Linked DNA regions of Homo sapiens: region 2 is linked to region 1. Evidence: promoter capture Hi-C in human tissues and cell types (Jung and others, 2019). All regions are on one chromosome and are shown on one strand. Each heading gives the region's core, a stretch centred on a gene start or on the middle of the fragment in contact. The rest is flanking DNA. Distances are from core to core; before and after follow the strand shown.

The links. The method cuts DNA at HindIII sites, captures the fragments that hold promoters and counts their contacts. A contact is called where the count stands out against the background at its distance.
Region 2: a contact is called between the fragment with the promoter of CYP3A7 here and a fragment that was not itself captured in region 1, in 3 of the 25 tissues and cell types used here (adrenal gland, mesendoderm cells and thymus).

Annotation. Positions count from the first base shown.
Region 1 is chr7:99,900,496-99,903,195 of GRCh38, forward strand. The region is part of intron 5 of TRIM4 (tripartite motif containing 4); the gene reads right to left. Among named protein-coding and RNA genes, the nearest start is that of TRIM4, 18 kb to the right of the region's middle. The HindIII fragment of the contact is 4,226 bases long and covers 1-2,700 here.
Region 2 is chr7:99,733,765-99,736,464 of GRCh38, forward strand. CYP3A7 (cytochrome P450 family 3 subfamily A member 7) reads right to left here and starts at 1,432. Exons shown (of 13, transcript NM_000765.5): 1 at 1,259-1,432. The coding sequence starts at 1,329. CYP3A7-CYP3A51P (CYP3A7-CYP3A51P readthrough) reads right to left here and starts at 1,432. Exons shown (of 15, transcript NM_001256497.3): 1 at 1,259-1,432. The coding sequence starts at 1,329. It also overlaps a transcript of ZSCAN25 not described here. RefSeq lists promoters at 1,329-2,700, 1,329-1,571 and enhancers at 1,577-1,607, 2,592-2,700. The HindIII fragment of the contact is 8,535 bases long and covers 1-2,700 here.

The sequences.
Region 1 (2,700 bases), core at 150-2,649:
ATAATGACAATAATATATATTTATTCGTGTCATTACCATTTCTGGTGCTCTTTTATTCCTTTGTGTAGAGAGATTTCCATCTGGCATTTTCCTTCTGTCTGAAGGACTTCCTTTAAGACTTCCTTTCTTGAAGTGTCAGTCTGCTGTAAACTCTTTCTTTTAAGCTTTAGTTTACCTCCAAACTTATTTATTTCACCTTTGTTTTTGAAGGATATTTTTTGCCAGTTCTAGAACTCTAGGTTAACAGTTTTTTTCTTTCAGGACTTTAAAGAGTTTGCTTACTGGCATTGTTTCCAATGAGAAGTGTAATGTCAACTTCGTCTTTGTTCCACTGCAAGTAACTATCCTCTCCCCTGGTTGCATTTAAGATTTTCTTTTTAACACTGGTTTCCAGCAAGTTATGATGAGCCTTGGCATATTTTTCTTCATATTTCTCATACTCAGGGTTTGTTGAGCATCTTGGATCTGTGGACTTAGTTTTTATTATATTCAGAAAATCTTTGGCCATTATGTCTTCAAGTATTTTTCCTATTCCATCTCCCTCCCCACTCCTCTCTTTCAGGGACGCCAATCACCATAGATAATAAGGCTGCATAAAGTTGTCCCACAGGTCACTGATGCTCTTTGTGTTTTTGTAAATTGTTTTATTCTGTGTATGTTTCATTTTTTTGTAGTTTCCATTGCTCTGTCTTCAAGTTCACCAATTTTTTCTTTTGTAATATTTAATCAACTATTAATCCCATCCAGTGCATTCTTCGCCTTAATCACATTTTTCATCTTTAAAACTTTGATCTGGTCTCTATGTACCTCTTTACAGAATACACTCATAATAAATGTTTTAAAGTCCTTCCATGCTTATTCTAACATCTGTGTCAATTCTAGGTCAGTTTCAGTTGATTATTTTCCTCCATTATGGGTCACTGCTTTCCTATCTTTTTGCATGCATATTTGACTGGATGCCAGACATTGTGAATTTATATTGTTAGGTGCTCTTTTTTTGTTTATTTCTACCAATTTTCTAGGGCTTTATCCTGGGATGCAGTTAAGTTAGTTGGAAAGAGTTTGACCCCTTTGGGTCTTGCTTTCATGATTTGTAAGGTGGGTGTGGAGCAGCACCCAGTCAAGGGCTAAATATTTTCTGCTAATGAGGCAAGATTTTCCTGAGTACGCTACTCAGTGCCCGTGAACTACGAGTTTTCTGGTGTGGCTGATAGGAACTGGCACTGTTCCTGGCCCTGTGTGAGCACCAGGAACCGTTCCCTCTAATCGTTTTAGAAGCTTCTATCTCCAGCCTTGAGTAGATTTTCACAGGCATGTGCTGATCAGAACTCTGCCAAACAACTAGGAAGCTCCTCCATAGATGGCGAGGGTTCTCTCTGTGTCCGGCTCTCTCCGCTCCAGGATACTGCCCAGTACTTTGCGAACTCTCACTACTTTGTTCTCCGTGAACTCCCAGGTCTATTCCTCAACTCAGCAAGTCTCCCTGGCTCTACCTCAGTTACCTCAGCCTTACATGGTCTGGAAACTCCCTCAGGCAGAGGGTAGGGCAATCATAGGCTGACCTCATTTGTTTCACATTTCTCAGGAATCACCGTCCTTCACTGCCTGACGTCTGGTGCTTTGAAAACGGTTGTTTCACATATTGTGCCTGTTTTGTTTTTGTGTTTTTATTTTAGTTGCTGCAGACAAGAAAACAACTCGTTTATTTACTCCATTTTGGCTAGAAGTGAACACCCACAACATGGTTCTTTTTAGTTTGTTTGTTTTTTGAGACAGAGTCTCACTCTATCGCCCAGTCTGGAGTGCAGTGGATACAATCTCAGCTCACTGCAACCTCCACCTCCCAGGTTCAAGCGATTCTCCTGCCTCAGCCTCCCGAGTAGCTGGGATTACAGGTGCACACCACTATGCTCAGCTAATTTTTGTATTTTAGTAGAGACAGGGTTTCACCATGTTGGCCAGGCTGGTCTCGAACTCCTGACCTCAAATGATCCGCCTGCCTCGACCTCCCAAAGTGCTGGGATTACAGACATGAGCCTTCGTGCCCGGCCTACAACATGGTTCTTAATCAAACATGTGCACATAAGAATCACCAGCACAGCTTCTAGAGCATGTACCTGCCTTGGTGCCTCCCTGGAGATCCAATGAGTTTATTTTCAGTCTGTCCTACACTCTTCTTCTCAACCTCAACCTCTACCTTTCCTCAAAATACACCTTGTTCTTTAGCCTCTTTGGATACCCACCCCTCCATGTTCTCCACACCTTAGCTCATGCTGCTGCTTCTGCTTGAAACAGTCATCCCTGTTTTCCACCTGCCAAACTCCTACTAATCCCTCAAATCTCAAAACTGTCGCCTCTGCTGTGAAAACTTTCCCATCTCGCCCCCAACAGAGCCCTTCCTCTGAATTTCTGTAACATTTTATTCCTACCACCAGCAAACACTGGCTCCTACTATATCACTGTGAGTGCTGTGTGTCTGTCTCTCCAATGTGCTTACGAACTCATGAAGAAGTGAACAGGTCTCTTCTTTTTGTATCACTAGCACCTTGTAACAGTGCGTTAAATAAATGTTTCTTGAATGAAGTGTATACCCATTTATTAACCACCTTTCCTGACACTCTATTAGCTGCATGCTGTTTCCTCTTTCCTCTCCAGACTTCTCTCTTTATTCTCCTATTTGAAAGATTTCTAAGGAGCCCC
Region 2 (2,700 bases), core at 182-2,681, 170 kb before region 1:
ATCCTACCTGGATGCTTTTGCTATCATCACTGGCTCACAGTCTTGCTTACTTTCTAGCCCTGAGAGTTTAGGATAACCTGCTAAGCAGGTGTATTTGAAATGGGGGTATTAAAATAAACTCTTGGGAAAGTATTTTTAAAAAGACATATGCAGTCTTGTCCTAGAGATATATATTTGTACATTAGACTCATATTCCTGACATTATTCTGGAAAGGTGAGGTTATCTTATACACATTTATTGTCACAAATACTGAACTAATAGCCCTCTTTTATCACTCAGAAGGAACATGCTGGAAATAGTCTATCTCCAAAAAAATCTGGCTTTAAAAAGGATGAATTTAAGCCACACCAATTCATGTTAAATTGCCAGTAGATGGAAACTATGTTACCACAACTCACTGAATTGCTAACTTTTCTGTGAAAGAATTAAAACGAGGTTTGTATTTTCTGTTTCCATGTGACCATGATTCCTTACTCTTAATAACTGTGAAATTGAGTTAGAAGTAAAATGTGACAGGCGGGAAGCCTCCAGTACACACAGTAGGGAGTGACTCTTCTCTCCACCTGCTCTAGGATGCCAGGATCTCACTGGTGAGAAGATTCACCCTCTTCTCCTGCAACTTAAAGGGAAAAATGTAAAATCCAAATTCTGGTTTGGTAAGCTGGGTACAAACCATTGTCTATTAGATTATCCTCAATCAATGCTGTCCCTAAACCCTTCTTTCCACTAAAGATGAATGGGGGAGATGCTTATTTATTCCTTTATAGATCTGCAAAACATCCATCATAACCTCTATATGTTTGTAGCATCCAACACTTAAGCTACTTCTCCTTGAAAATCTTTTTTTTTCTTTTTTTTCTCTTTTTTTTTTTTTGAGATGGAATCTCACTCTGTTACCCAGGCTGGAGTGCAGTGGCATGATCTCAGTTCACTGCAACCTCCGCCTCCCAGGTTCAAGCAATTCTCCTGCCTCAGCCACCCAAGTAGCTGGGACTACAGTTATGCACTACCATGCCCAGCTAATTTTTGTAATTTTAGTAGAGATGGGGTTTCACCATATTAGCCAGGCTGGTCTTGAACTCCTGACCTCAGGCAGTCCACCTGCTCAGCATCCCAAAGTTCTGGGATGACAGGTGTGAGCCACCACGGCCAGCCTGAACATCCTTTTTGCTATTCAAAACAGATAAGGGAAAGAGAGGCCTGATTAGCACCCCAAGTCCAAGGAAACAGAGAAGAGGAGCCTGAACAGTTACTCACAGATAGAGGAGTATCAGGCTGACAGCCAGGAGAAGCCAGGTTTCCACGGCCAAGTTTGGGATGAGATCCATCACTACTTTCCTTCCTTATCTCTCTCCTCTGAGTCTTTTTTTCAGCAGCGTGCTGCTGTTTGCTGGGCTGTGTGTGTGGAGCTTTCCTGCCCTGCACAGCAGTGATTCAGTGAGGCTGTTGGATTGTTTATATGCTGGAGAAGGAGGCAGGGCTGGAGCTGCAGCCAGTAGCAGGGCCCCCGTGCTCTGCCTGCAGTCGGAAGAGGCTTCTCCACCTCGGCAGTTGGCAAATAATCACACACACACCACTCACTGACCTCCATTGAGTTAATATTCTATGTAGAATCATACACAACTCAATCAATGTTACTGGGGAGTCCAAGGGTTCTGGGTTCTTATCACAAACTCAAGTGGAGCCATTGGCATAAAATCTATTAACTCTCCTCTTGTCTCTATGGCTGTCCTCATTCCAGAATACTTGAAACTCATCCCAACAAGCCATGCCTACAGATCTTTACCTATGCCTGGAGTGTGCCTGTGCCCCCTAGAAGACTCCTACACATCCTTTCATACCCAGCCAGACAGAGCCTTCTCTTAGAGTCTTTCCTCACCAACCCCCTCACACAGAAGTAACCATTTCCTCCCCTGGGCACTTTCCATCCCCTTCATGCAGTTCTATTGTCTTCTTTCCTCTTTACCACCATTGTGTGTTTCCAGGCCTGTTTCCCTTAGCAGAGGTGAGCTCCTCAAGGGCATAGTCTGGTCTTACTCACTCTCATGGCTCTGGTCCCTATCAGGGTGCTGTACACACAGTGGGGACCAGAAAGGCTGGTGGAGTTGACTTGGCTGAGATTGCTGGGCCCCTGTGTGTCACTTCCTCTGACTTTCTGGTGACCACTCCATCTTCTTAGGTCATTAATACAGCCAGAGCTCTTGGCTGTGCCTCAGCTGCTGTCTCTGCACTTTCAGATTTGTCCTCTGTGATTCTGTTGGCAAGAGGACCCCTAAAAAAGAGACATGGCATGGATGAGATGGAGCTGATGGCTTAGTGGAATAGCATCAATTTGTGCTTCTTCCTCTGTAGCTTTCAAAAGTCCTGCCGTAGATAGAAAGTTAGACAGGTTCTTTGCCAAAGAGTGGCCCCTTCTCTCTGGAAATACTGCATGTCTGGAAACAGTAGGGGAGAAAGAAGAGAAGAGAACAGCTGCCCAGATGGCCAGGTTGACCCAAACCACCTCAGCCAGCAACAATGGGGCAGTGGTCACTGCAGGTCACACAGCATCAAGGACTCCAATGAGGTGGTCCCAGCCTCTTGAGGGTGGAATTGGAATTCAAAGCAAATGGCTTCCTTTTTGACAAGTGGAGGATTTTCTAATGGGAGGAGAGCAGGTGCCAGGAGCTGGTAGAGATGAGGCCTGTAATAACAGTTGC